2 separate regions of the Homo sapiens genome follow, and region 1 is linked to region 2. The links are contacts of gene promoters, found by promoter capture Hi-C in blood cells and fetal thymus (Javierre and others, 2016). All regions are on one chromosome and are shown on one strand. Each heading gives the region's core, a stretch centred on a gene start or on the middle of the fragment in contact. The rest is flanking DNA. Distances are from core to core; before and after follow the strand shown.

Evidence for each region. The method cuts DNA at HindIII sites, captures the fragments that hold promoters and counts their contacts. A CHiCAGO score of 5 or more calls a contact.
Region 1: the fragment with the promoter of ATP6V0A1 here is called in contact with a fragment that was not itself captured in region 2 in 17 of 17 cell types (megakaryocytes, total B cells, naive B cells and 14 more); the score reaches 17.6 in megakaryocytes.

Annotation. Positions count from the first base shown.
Region 1 is chr17:42,453,248-42,460,218 of GRCh38, reverse strand. ATP6V0A1 (ATPase H+ transporting V0 subunit a1) reads right to left here and starts at 1,341. Exons shown (of 22, transcript NM_001130021.3): 1 at 1,256-1,341. RefSeq lists a silencer at 1,272-1,481 and an enhancer at 1,632-1,721. The HindIII fragment of the contact is 8,228 bases long and covers 1-3,478 here.
Region 2 is chr17:42,309,968-42,316,739 of GRCh38, reverse strand. It overlaps STAT5A (signal transducer and activator of transcription 5A), which reads right to left. Exons shown (of 19, transcript NM_001288718.2): 19 at 4,797-6,233. The coding sequence ends at 6,071. STAT3 (signal transducer and activator of transcription 3) reads left to right here. Exons shown (of 24, transcript NM_139276.3): 24 at 940-3,416. The coding sequence ends at 995. Among named protein-coding and RNA genes, the nearest start is that of STAT5A, 25 kb to the right of the region's middle. RefSeq lists silencers at 3,958-4,117, 4,238-4,337, 4,408-4,547 and an enhancer at 5,800-5,849. The HindIII fragment of the contact is 2,719 bases long and covers 2,948-5,666 here.

The DNA of each region.
Region 1 (6,971 bases), core at 92-2,591, 150 kb before region 2:
TCAAATCAAGCATGACAGGAACACACTGATAATGACAAAGCAGTTTTATCAAGCCACAGAGAATAAGCCTTCCACCTCTGCAGCTTTCTGTTTCTCAACCCTACCTTCAAGATTAATTACATTCTTCCATCTGTCAAATCTCATGAGCCAATAAAGGTTTCGTTTTAGTGCTGTCTTACTGTTGCCGGGTATGAGACAACTGGCGCTATCAGTGGTCCTGAAACTGCAATTATTTATTCTCGATCAGCTAATGTAAGGCACAGCCTGTCCAGTATCCAAACTCAGAAAAATGCACAGTATTTTTAGTGTCATAAGGGCATCTATACTGAGTACTGATAGATGAGTCTGACATCAAAGGAAGATTTACTCTTCTGGAAGGCTGGGAGACATTTTGAGAAATCTGAACGAACAAACCTTTGTGCATGTGATGTTCAAGACAGTAACACAAGCTCAGACATAAGCAAGGACTTCTCAAGAGAATATGCAGGCTGACTTTAAGATTCTGTACATCTGAATCATCCAAATCAGCTGTTACCGGCACCACCCTTAAACAAAGAGAGATTCTACAACCTCTAAACACATAAAATTAGGCCTGGTCAGCATAGTTCAGGAGCTGTGGATAATGATAAGCCTCCAACGAGTCGCCTCCGTCCTCCTGCTCTTTAATGATTATAGGTCTCCCAAGAATATCTCTATAGCAATGGAGGCTAACAGAAAACTAATTAGGCCAAAGTAGTTCTGGACGATCACAAAACAAAATATGAAGAAACAGCAATTCTGCAAAAGATGAGTCCAACTACAGCGCCCCCGCGCCCTGCCTAGAAGAATCTCACTCCTGTCATCCGGTCCTCGCCTCCTCCCACGGTATTCACCTGCTTCATTTCCTGTCTACCCAATGAGCAGGAATTCTCTGGACTCAGGCTCATCTACCTTGAGATGGGAAAAAAGGAGAGGAAAACCCCCAAACTGAGAAACCCTTTAAGAAGCCCCCTAAATTCTTCTGCCTATCCAATAACCTCCGGTTCCTCCGCCTACCCCTTAAAGCAGGGAAGAGATGCGGGGCTTCCAAAGGGCAGTGAGCCTCCGGTTCCTCAGGGCAGAGGAGGGGTGCCCAAGGAGGGGGCGAACCCCCATTTTATCTCGAAGACGTCAGATCCCCGCTAATTCCTCTGACAATCAAGGGGGCTCTTAGAAGGATTTCCTACGTCCATCGAGGGCCGCTCCCTGTTGCGCTAAACCTACAGCCCCCACTCACCTCCAAACTCCGCCACAGCAACCGCCACAGAAACCACCGCAGCCAAACCCGCACCCTCCGCGGCTCCAGGAGCAGCGCTTCGACGTGCTTGCGTCCGTAAAGCCCCGCCCCTGCGCCGCCGCCGGCCCCCGCCCCCGCAATGACCTCATTGCAGTTGGCCAATGGGGCGCAGCCTCGCCCGGGCTGCAGCAGTGCGGAGTCACGGGGGTCGCAGGCGAGACCCAGCGTGCTGACGCCATGTTGGCCCCTGTGCTGTATCTCCACGCTGGGGAGGGTTAGCGGGTGGGGCTGGAGGTGCAGGTGCTCGAGGCCTTAAGTTCCTGAGCCTCCCTGAATCCTTTTTCTTACCCCTTATACTGGGGTAGGTTGTCTTTTCTCTTTCTTTTTTTTTTTTTGAAGTCTCATTCTGTTGCTCAAGCAGGAGTGCAGTGGCGTGATCTCGGCCCACTGCAACCTCCACCTCCCGGGTTCAAGCGATTCTCCTGCCTCAGCCTCCCAAGTAGCTGGGACTACAGGCACGCACCACCATGCCCGGCTAATTTTTGTATTTTTTTTTTTTTTAAGTAGAGACGGGGTTTCACTATGTTGGCCAGGCTGAGTCTCGAATTCTGACCTCGTGATCCACCCGCCTCGGCCTCCCAAAGTGTTGGGATTACAAGCGTGAGCCACCACGCCCGGCCTTTTTTTTTTTTTTTTTTTTTTTTTTTTAGATGGTCTGTTTCCCAGGCGGGAATGCAGTGGCGCGTTCTCGGCTCACTGCAGCCTCCGCCTCCCGGGTTCAGGGGATTCTCCTGCCTCAGCCTCCCTAGTAGCTGAGATTACAGGCACGCACCACGCCACCCGGCTATTTTTGTATTTTTTGTAGAGATGGGGTTTCGCCATGTTGCCCAGACTGGTCCTGGCCTCCACCCGCCTCGGCCTCCCAAAGTGCTGGGATTACAGGTGTGAGCCACCGCGCCCGGCCCTCTCTTTATTTTCATATCCAAAGAATTAATTCACACATACGCACCCAAATAATTAATGTCTTCTCTCTTTATTTTCATATCCAAAGAATTCACACACACACTCAAATAATTAATACGCAGACACATATACCACCCTTTCTCTTTTCCCTTATTTTACAGATGAGAACATTTGAGCCCCAGACTGGGGAGCGGCTAGCTTTAGATCCTGTAGTAGAGTCTTTAACGGGGTCTCATTTGCATAAGTATGGAAAACCTCTCTTTAAATGGTACATGGTTCATGCCTTCCAGCAACTTCCCCGGGTCTATTTTTCTCTGTTTAACAGGAAAAACCTCATCAGACCATATGTTGTGAAAGTACATTTCAGTCTTGTTTGGTAGATTCATGTGGGCTCAATTGACCACTTAGGAGTTTTCAATTCCTCAAATTTATTTTAAAAACATTTTTTATGGCTTGTACTCAACTTGTAAATTAAATATTGAAAAACATTTTTTAAACGCAAAAGTGATGTCTATTATTTTTTAAATGCCATTATCAAATATTGATATTGATTCCCTTTTCTTGCCCTTTTAAAGAAGAGTAGGGATCTCAAGTCGTTTGTGATAACCAGAATTGTATCAGGAAAAACTCAGAAAACCGGTTATTCTGTCTTCCTGGGTGGTGGAACCCTGTTGAAATTCAAGTGTAATGAGGGAGATATTCCAGATAAAAACTTGTTGCTGATAATTTTGTCAACCTGACAAAAACATCATCAAACCTGCTTTACCAGCCTAAACAAAATAAGGGGACAAAAATGGACGTTTTATTTGAATTTATTGTCTCATATTGTGAGTGAAGATATAACCTGACTTCAATACAACCTTCTTAAGACACAGAGTCTTGGAGAGACCCATACCCTCCTTCTCCCTGCTCCCTAGCTCTCAACCCTTCTGGCAAGACAGATCGGGACCCACATTTAAAAGCCTGCCAAGTTAGAGAAAACTGTTACACAATATCATTTCCTTCCTCTGAGACTTAAAAAAAAATTAACCTCAGTCAGCTGCTTGCTAACCACAAATTTTTCATACTCCACTTTTAAGACAGCCTTTCCTGTGGACTTACTTCAATTCCCTTGAACTCTTTTCACGGCTTCTTTGAAAGAATATTGTTTCAGAACTCCTTTTCTGTTTGCTTCCATCTCCTGCCATCAATCTTTCCTCAGTGTTCTATTTATTTTCCCTCCATGCTGTCTTCCTTGATGGTCTTGAGTGTTGTCAAGCTTAAACGTTTATGTGTAGGACTCTTATCTGTTTTTCCACCTGACTTCCTTCTTCAAGACTCAGAAATGGAATTTCATACTGCCTGCTTGATAGTGCCTTTTAGGCAGCAGATGCTTGCTGAGGGCCTACTGTGTGCCAGAGAGGGGTACTAGGTGCTGGGGATAGAAAATGAAACAGACATGCTTCTTATCCTTGGAGAGCTCATGGTTCAGTGAGAAAGAAACTTCCCAAATGGCAAGAGAGAGAGGAGTGCAGTGATTAATACTTACTATGTGCCAGGCACTTTTCTACATGCTTGGTAAATACAAACTCATTTAATCCTCACAACAACATTAGGAGGCAGTTACTATTATTATCCCCATATAACAGATGATATGGTAAAACTGAGGCATATGTCCAATAAGATCAAATTTAAAATGCTGTTGACCACACCTACAGCCCTAGAAGACATGAGCAATTCCATATGAGGCTTGGCCAGTGACACAGTTCCGAGTATCTAAACCGAGCTATTCCCTAGCATTTGTGAAAATGGCTAAAAAACAATTAAAGCCAGGTGTGGTGGCTCACGCCTGTAATCCCAGCACTTTGGAAGGCTGAGGCGGGTGGATTACCTGAGGTCGGGAGTTTGAGACCAGCCTGGCCAACATGGTGAAAACTCATCTCTACTAAAAATACAAAAAATTAGCTGGGGATGGTGGTGCATGCCTATAATCCCAGCTACTCAGGAGGCTAAGGCAGGAGAACCACTTGAACCCAGGAGGCGGTGGTTGCAGTGGCCAAGATCGCGCCATTGCCCTCCAACCTGGGCAATAAGAGCAAAACTGAGTCTGAAAAAAAAAAAAACAGTTATAAAGATTAGTTCTTCACTACCACAAAAAGAATAGAACAGAGGTAGGGATCTAACTGATAGAGTCTCAAAATGTTACAAGAATTGTCACTGTAGTGAAATTATTAAATGTGGTTTTTTATCTTTAATTTTTAGTTTGAATGAATGCGTGTCAATTGTCCAAATTTCCACCAGTGAAGAATCAGCTAGCTCATCTTAGCTTATCCCACTTAGATTCCTAGATGGGGCCTAGAGGAGAGTTTTAACGTTAAGCCCGGTGTTTTGAAATACGTATCTGCTCCAGTGTCTTCTCCACAGGCTTCCAGTATTCGTTTCCCTAAGGCTGCCATACAAATAACCACAACCTGGGTAGCATTTAAAACAACAGAAATCAGGTCAGCCGAGGTGGCTCACGCCTGTAATCCTAGCACTTTGGGAGACCGAGGCCAGCCTGTCACCTGAGGTCAGGAGTTCGAGACTAGCCTGGCCAACATGGGGAAACCCCATCTCTACTAAAAATACAAAAATTAGCAAGACATGGTGGTGGGCGCCTGTAGTCTCAGCTACTTGGGAGGCTGAGGCAGGAGAATCACTTGAACCCAGGGGGCAGAGGCTACAGTGAGCCAAGTTTGCGCCACCTCACTCCAGCTTGGATGAAAAAGCAAAACTGTGTCTCAAAAAAACAAAAAACAACAGAAATCGGCCATGCACGGTGGCTCACTCCTGTTATCCCAGCACTTTGGGAGGCCAAGGCAGAAGGATGGCTTGAGCCCAGGAGTTTGAGACCAGCCTGGACAACACAGCAAGACCCACGTCTGTAAAAAAAAAAAAAAAAAAAAATTAGCTGGGCATGGTGGCACGTGCCTGTAGACCCAGCTACTCAGGAGGCTGAAGTGGGAGGATGGCTTGAGCCTGAGCCAGGGAGGTTGATGCTGCTGCAGGGAGCCGTGATTGAGCCACTGCATTTCAGCCTGGGTGACACAGTGAGGCCCTGTCTCAAAAAAACAAAAACACCGAAATTTATTCTCTCACAGCGGAGGCTAGAAGTCTGAAATTAAGGTGTCTGCAGAGCATGGTATCTCCAAAGGCTCTGGGAAAGAATCCTTTCTTCCCTCTTCCTGGCTTCTGGTGGTTGCCAGAAATCCTTGGTGTTCCTTGGCTTATAGATGCATCATTTCAATTGTTGCCTCCATCGTCACATGGTATTCTTTCTTCTATATGTCTTTTTTTTTTTATTTGAGATAGAGTCTTGCTCTGTCGCCCAGACGAGTGCAGTGGCGCAATCTCAGCTCACTGCAACCTCCACCTCCCAGGTTCAAGCAATTCTCCTGCCTCAGCCTCCTGAGTAGCTGGGATTACGGGTGTGCACCGCCACGCCCAGCTAATTTTTGTATTTTCAGTAGAGACGGGGGTTCGCCATACTGCTCAGGCTAGTCTCGAACTCCTGGCCTCAAGTGATCCACCCGCCTCAGCCTCCCAAAGTGCTGGGATTACAGGAGTGAGCCACTGCACCCGGCCTTCTCTATGTGTCTCTGTCTGTAGGCAAATTCTCCTCTTCTTATAGGGGCACCAGCCATTAGATTAGGGCACCACTTAATCCAGTATGATCCCATCTTAACCTGATTACATCTGCAAATATCCTATTTCCAAATGAGGCCACCTTCACAGGTTCCCCGTTATACATGAATTTTTTTTTCTTTTCTTCCTTTTTTTTTTTTTTTTTGAGACGGAGTCTCACTCTGTCATCCAGACTGGAGTGCCGTGGCGCAGTCTCGTCTCACTACAACCTCTGCCTCCTGGGTTCAGGCATTTATCCTGCCTCAGCCTCCCGAGTAGCTGGGATTACAGGGCCTGCCACCACGCCCGGATAATTTTTTTGTATTTTTAGTAGAGACAGGGTTTCACCATGTTGGCCAGGCTGGTCTCTAACACCTGACCTCAAGTGATTTGCCCTCCTCTGCCTCCCAAAGTCCTGAGATTACAGGCGTAAGCCACCACACCTGCCCTATGTTTTCCTTTTTGCAACCAGAATTCCATTTTTAAAAGTTTTCTTTTTATGTGAAAATGAATTCTGATTCTTAAAACTGTTCTACCAAGAATCTGATATGAGCGTTCATTGAGACATTTCTACTGCTACAACCTTTAGGTGACCTGTTGATTAGCAGTTTGTTTCCATAGAAGTAGTCCCTTTTACAACTTCACTGTGAGTTCCTTAAAATACTTCTGCTTTTACTTTCAAACCTGTGAGTGTTTAAGATTAAAGGCCTTTTGGTAAAAAGTAAAAACCTAATAGATTTTGAGACTTCCTCGGAAGCTCTGCTAATGATTGCATGGACAAGGAGATATAAATGAGCCTAAGGCATGTAACATTTTATTTTATGCAACCCTCATGACTCCTGTGACAGACACATGAGGCAGTGAGCCTCTTAACTTGTGGAAGTTAAGAATGCTATGCAGAGGCTTTTTAAGGAAATGAAATTTGGAAAACATGAGAAATCTTGGGATGGGAATGAGGGAAAGGGCTGAGTGACACAAGGCTGAAAAACATCTGTGACACTAGACCTGAAATATTTGTCCAGGAAAGTGAGAAACTAGTTCGAGATTTCTGAAGTGGAAAATCTGGCAAATGTTTCTATATTGGGTTTCTAGTGACTTCGAGAAAGAAAGG
Region 2 (6,772 bases), core at 3,058-5,557:
TTTGTGTGATGCTCTCACATGTACACACCGAGAGCTGGTCACTCGGAATGGTAGGAGATTCTAGAGCTTTGCTTTCCAAAAGAGATGGTATGAATGCCACATGTGTGAGTATAAATCTTCTAGCAGCCACACTGGAAATAGACGAACTTAATTTTTACAATATATTTTATTTAACCCACTAAATCCAACATACTCTCAATTTAACATTTCAGAAAAAGTTGAGGCTGGGTGAGTGGCTCATGCCTGTAATCCCAGCACTTTGGGAGGCCGAGGTGGGTGGATCACTTGAGGTCAGGAGTTCGAGACCAGTCTGACCAAAATCTCTAAAATATAAAAATTAGCTGGGCATGGTGGCGCATACCTGTAATCCCAGCTACTCAAGAAGCTGAGGTGGGAGGATCGCTTGAGCCTGGGAGGTGGAGGTTGCAGTGAGCAGAGATCGTGCCACTGCACTCCAGCCTGGGCGACAGAGTGAGACTCCATCTCAAATAAACAAAACTAAACTAAAAAGAAAAAGTTGAGACCTTTTTTTATTCTTTTTTTTCATACTAAGCCTTTAAAATCCAGTGGGCTTTTGACAGCCACAGCACAGCTCAGTTTGGACAAACCAAATCTCAAATGCTTGGTGGCCACGTGTGTCTCGGGGCTCCTGAATTAAACAGTAGATCAAGGGCAGAAGATCTCAGGACAGCCTTAGAGCTTCTGTAAACATGGAGCTCTGGGAATCAGTTAAGGTGGGAATGAGAAAGGACCCTTCCCGAGGCAGGGTCCTCCAGGGAGGAGGGTAAATCTGGCTTTTCTGACCATCCCTGGGCCTTAAGGGGCAGGAGATTGGATAGCAGTGGTAGCCTGGGCCCTGTCCTCTGAAGGGCTGGGGGCGTGGCCTGCCAGTTGCAGAGGGTGGACAACTGAACTAGTTTTCCCTGTCTGTCCCTCCAGAGTCCCTCACCTTTGACATGGAGTTGACCTCGGAGTGCGCTACCTCCCCCATGTGAGGAGCTGAGAACGGAAGCTGCAGAAAGATACGACTGAGGCGCCTACCTGCATTCTGCCACCCCTCACACAGCCAAACCCCAGATCATCTGAAACTACTAACTTTGTGGTTCCAGATTTTTTTTAATCTCCTACTTCTGCTATCTTTGAGCAATCTGGGCACTTTTAAAAATAGAGAAATGAGTGAATGTGGGTGATCTGCTTTTATCTAAATGCAAATAAGGATGTGTTCTCTGAGACCCATGATCAGGGGATGTGGCGGGGGGTGGCTAGAGGGAGAAAAAGGAAATGTCTTGTGTTGTTTTGTTCCCCTGCCCTCCTTTCTCAGCAGCTTTTTGTTATTGTTGTTGTTGTTCTTAGACAAGTGCCTCCTGGTGCCTGCGGCATCCTTCTGCCTGTTTCTGTAAGCAAATGCCACAGGCCACCTATAGCTACATACTCCTGGCATTGCACTTTTTAACCTTGCTGACATCCAAATAGAAGATAGGACTATCTAAGCCCTAGGTTTCTTTTTAAATTAAGAAATAATAACAATTAAAGGGCAAAAAACACTGTATCAGCATAGCCTTTCTGTATTTAAGAAACTTAAGCAGCCGGGCATGGTGGCTCACGCCTGTAATCCCAGCACTTTGGGAGGCCGAGGCGGATCATAAGGTCAGGAGATCAAGACCATCCTGGCTAACACGGTGAAACCCCGTCTCTACTAAAAGTACAAAAAATTAGCTGGGTGTGGTGGTGGGCGCCTGTAGTCCCAGCTACTCGGGAGGCTGAGGCAGGAGAATCGCTTGAACCTGAGAGGCGGAGGTTGCAGTGAGCCAAAATTGCACCACTGCACACTGCACTCCATCCTGGGCGACAGTCTGAGACTCTGTCTCAAAAAAAAAAAAAAAAAAAAGAAACTTCAGTTAACAGCCTCCTTGGTGCTTTAAGCATTCAGCTTCCTTCAGGCTGGTAATTTATATAATCCCTGAAACGGGCTTCAGGTCAAACCCTTAAGACATCTGAAGCTGCAACCTGGCCTTTGGTGTTGAAATAGGAAGGTTTAAGGAGAATCTAAGCATTTTAGACTTTTTTTTATAAATAGACTTATTTTCCTTTGTAATGTATTGGCCTTTTAGTGAGTAAGGCTGGGCAGAGGGTGCTTACAACCTTGACTCCCTTTCTCCCTGGACTTGATCTGCTGTTTCAGAGGCTAGGTTGTTTCTGTGGGTGCCTTATCAGGGCTGGGATACTTCTGATTCTGGCTTCCTTCCTGCCCCACCCTCCCGACCCCAGTCCCCCTGATCCTGCTAGAGGCATGTCTCCTTGCGTGTCTAAAGGTCCCTCATCCTGTTTGTTTTAGGAATCCTGGTCTCAGGACCTCATGGAAGAAGAGGGGGAGAGAGTTACAGGTTGGACATGATGCACACTATGGGGCCCCAGCGACGTGTCTGGTTGAGCTCAGGGAATATGGTTCTTAGCCAGTTTCTTGGTGATATCCAGTGGCACTTGTAATGGCGTCTTCATTCAGTTCATGCAGGGCAAAGGCTTACTGATAAACTTGAGTCTGCCCTCGTATGAGGGTGTATACCTGGCCTCCCTCTGAGGCTGGTGACTCCTCCCTGCTGGGGCCCCACAGGTGAGGCAGAACAGCTAGAGGGCCTCCCCGCCTGCCCGCCTTGGCTGGCTAGCTCGCCTCTCCTGTGCGTATGGGAACACCTAGCACGTGCTGGATGGGCTGCCTCTGACTCAGAGGCATGGCCGGATTTGGCAACTCAAAACCACCTTGCCTCAGCTGATCAGAGTTTCTGTGGAATTCTGTTTGTTAAATCAAATTAGCTGGTCTCTGAATTAAGGGGGAGACGACCTTCTCTAAGATGAACAGGGTTCGCCCCAGTCCTCCTGCCTGGAGACAGTTGATGTGTCATGCAGAGCTCTTACTTCTCCAGCAACACTCTTCAGTACATAATAAGCTTAACTGATAAACAGAATATTTAGAAAGGTGAGACTTGGGCTTACCATTGGGTTTAAATCATAGGGACCTAGGGCGAGGGTTCAGGGCTTCTCTGGAGCAGATATTGTCAAGTTCATGGCCTTAGGTAGCATGTATCTGGTCTTAACTCTGATTGTAGCAAAAGTTCTGAGAGGAGCTGAGCCCTGTTGTGGCCCATTAAAGAACAGGGTCCTCAGGCCCTGCCCGCTTCCTGTCCACTGCCCCCTCCCCATCCCCAGCCCAGCCGAGGGAATCCCGTGGGTTGCTTACCTACCTATAAGGTGGTTTATAAGCTGCTGTCCTGGCCACTGCATTCAAATTCCAATGTGTACTTCATAGTGTAAAAATTTATATTATTGTGAGGTTTTTTGTCTTTTTTTTTTTTTTTTTTTTTTGGTATATTGCTGTATCTACTTTAACTTCCAGAAATAAACGTTATATAGGAACCGTCTGATAGCATGGCAGCTCTGTTTGGCTGGTGGAGGCTTCCTTTTCCCCTGCATAAGTTCTGAGGGGGCCTCACACACAGGTGGGGCCTGGGATAAGGGCCGGAAAGGGTCTTGAGAGGAGGTGGTTGCCTTAATCCCCCCCGCCAACCCCCTTATGTTAGCCACCAGCCCGGAGGTAAGGGGTGCCTGGAGGAGCAGGAGGTCAATAGTCCAACGGCAGAAAGGTGTCAGAGTGGAGGCCTCCCTCCCCGGCCCCCTCCTACCCCCCAGAGCGGCCTCGTCCTGTCTGGGGTCAGATAAGCCACCTAAGCGGGGTGGGGGGTAGATACTCCCACCGCACCAAGGCCTCCCCTTCCACAGTTGGCTCCTTTATCACTTTCCCTTCAGTTCACCCAGCGGGGACAACACGCAGACACCCGGTGGTGGCTGCAGGGCCCCCGGCAGCCAGCGGTGATAATGCAGGGAAAGGCGCCCCAACCTCAGCTACGCGGGCGCCCACAGGGCTTCTCCCCACCCCTACACGTGCCCCAGCGCCCTGGAGACCGCGCCTGGGAGCTACGAGCGAGCACCTTCCCTCGCAGAGATGGATCAGATTAGCCCCCTGGGGCGGTGGCACCTGCCCGTCCCCTCCCCTCCTCTCTTCTCCCACCCCCGCCTTCCCCCTGCTCTGGGCCCCCTGCACCTCCCTCTTGGGGCCCACGCGCCGCCCCTCTCCCTCGCTTGAGCTCTGAGCTCAGAAGGAACCTGCCCGCAAACCTGGCTCCCAGCCCCGCCCAGGGAGCGCGCGTCCCTGAGCCCAAGGGCCCCAGCGACAGCAGGGACTGGCTGCAGCCGGCAGTGCGGGGGTCCAGCCGGGGCGAGCCGGTCCCGCTTGCTGCACCTCCGCCTCGCACAGTCGCCGGCAGCCAGCTGAAAACAGCGCAGCCGCGTGGTGCCACCTGCTGGTCTCTGGGAAGGAGGAGGATGGGACGGTTGTTGCGGCTCTGGGACTGCCCCTGGCCCCGAGGGTTGAGAAGCATCTTGGCGCCGGGCCCTCAGCCGCCAGCTTCGAGGCTGCTGGGAGCAGCAGCTGCTAAGGAGAAGCCTGGGTCAGAGTTCTGCCCACCCGCGCCCATCTCCATCATTTCCCCAAACCTCGAGTCCCCTGCTTTTTAAGGAATCTGTGCCCCCTAAACTGGCTCCTTACCCTTCTGAGAAGCATTGACAGTATTCCAGGGGTGGCCAGCACCCTGAAAACCACAGCAAAGCGGGCAGAGTTAAAATTTAAGACTAAAAATGACAGCATCAGGCATGCACGCGGGAAGGAACAGAACAACCAGCTCCAGGGGTTCCCATCACCCAGGGAGGCCACCAACGCCCCAACCAGGAGCCATAGCAGCAAATTTATGAAAAAAATATTTTATTCCAAAACACTGTTTACACAAATGTGTGGTCTTTGTACAAAGTACAAAAAAACCCCTCTTCTCATCCCCACCTCCCTTCAGAGAAGTTTAAACCTTGGGCTCTCAATCTTCCATGGTCAGCTGCCCCTGACTGCGAGTCCTACAGCCTCAGAGGGAGGAGCGTGTGGGGTTGGGAGCAAGGCCTCACCAGAACACAGCCAGTTACGCAACAGCGCAAGGCCTGCTCCAGGCCCCACCTCCAGCGGAGTCAAACCAGATCAGCTTTTACCCCTCACTCCAGATTCCACAGGCACGCAGCACATGGCTGATTTGCAGCTTGTCTTTCACTGCAGTTTTTTGTTTTTGTTTTTTCCAGGAGGCAAGAGGACCAACCCTCCAAGTCCCGGGGCCCCTGTCCACCCACCATATCCTAGACCCAATCTTTTCTACCTCTTTGTCGACAAGGTTACAAACAGAGAGGCAAGCAAAGAAGGCTGGGGCCCAACGGAGGGGAGAGAATATATATCCCGGGAAACGTGGGCAACAGCATCATAGACTTGAATGAAGCCCAAGGCCAAGCAGCCAAGCAAGGACTAATTCAGAGCAGCTCAGAAACCCTCACTCAAACCGGCGGCCCCCCTGTGCTAAGGACATGGCCGGGCCCAGACGCGCTCTCATAGGGTTCACAGAGAGTCTGGAGTCCACGTTCACTAAAGTATAAAATACTACTCGAAAATGAACCCCAGCCTCCCTTCTGAGAGATGAATCGGTTACATCAACACATGAGGACAGATGCATTTACATAGACCCACACACTCTCTCTTTCTCTCTCTCTGTCTCTCTGTCTCTCTCTCTTAGGAGGGCAAAGCTTCTCACTCCGGAGTGAAACTTCAGCTTACAGACGTTACCTGTCTCCCCTCCCCTTCTGAATCATCTCATTCAAATAGCTGCTGAGCAGATGAGGGGCCCAGGAGGAATAGGTCTGGCTGCATTGAGTGCCTGCAGTGACAGAGGCTCGGTCTCTACCATGACAGAGACAGACTCGGCGCACTCTTGGATGCCATGATCTGAAAAGAGGCCACCGCTGCTGCAGCCACATCCCAGGACTGCACAGGGGAGGCAGGCGTAGCTCATGCACAAGGACACACACACACACACACACACAAGCACATGCATGCCTGCAAAGGTGTCAGTGTACACAGCCTTACTAAACTCACAACACGACCGCTTCACATTGCATATTGTTTCCAAAGAGAAGCGTGGGATTCAAACATTCATGAGAGGGAGCCTCTGGCAGAGGTGAAAAGACCGGCAGGGGGCGAGAGGCGGGAGTCAAGACTGTCCATTGGTCGGCGTAAGAGTTCCTCCACGTGCCTGGCCACATCCATGGTCTCATCCAGGTCGAATTCTCCATCCTGATCGAGTACATGGTCAGGGCTGGTAAAGACAGGGGGATGTCAGAGGGAGCTGGCATGTCTCACAGCCTCAAGCTCCCTGGGGACAGCCTCCAGCCTGCTCTCCACTCAAACCCGTCTCATGAGAACAGGACCAGTTCTGGCTGGATGCCCCCACCCCACCCCAAGCTGGGTAGCAGTCAGCCCACTGGCTTCTGCAGACCCCCACTCTATTCGCATCTCTTGCTAACTCACTGAATAATCTTAGGGAATTCATTTCCCCTCTCCGTGTCCTCATCTTAAAACCAGGTGGCTGACACAGTGGGCTCTGCCCACCTGCAATGATGCTCAGCTGCAATGGTAGGCACCGCCCCGTTCACTGAGCACTTAGAACAGCTGAATCTTTTCACTGAGCACCTAGAACAGCTGAGCCTATTGAGCACATGACTCCAATTTTTACAGCCAACTGGAGAGTGGGTATTGACCCCGTTTTATAGACGAGAAAACCAAGGCCATATCAGGAAGCTTGCTCTGGGCCACCTGGCTGGGAGGTGGTGGAGTCCGGATTGGAACCTGGGATCT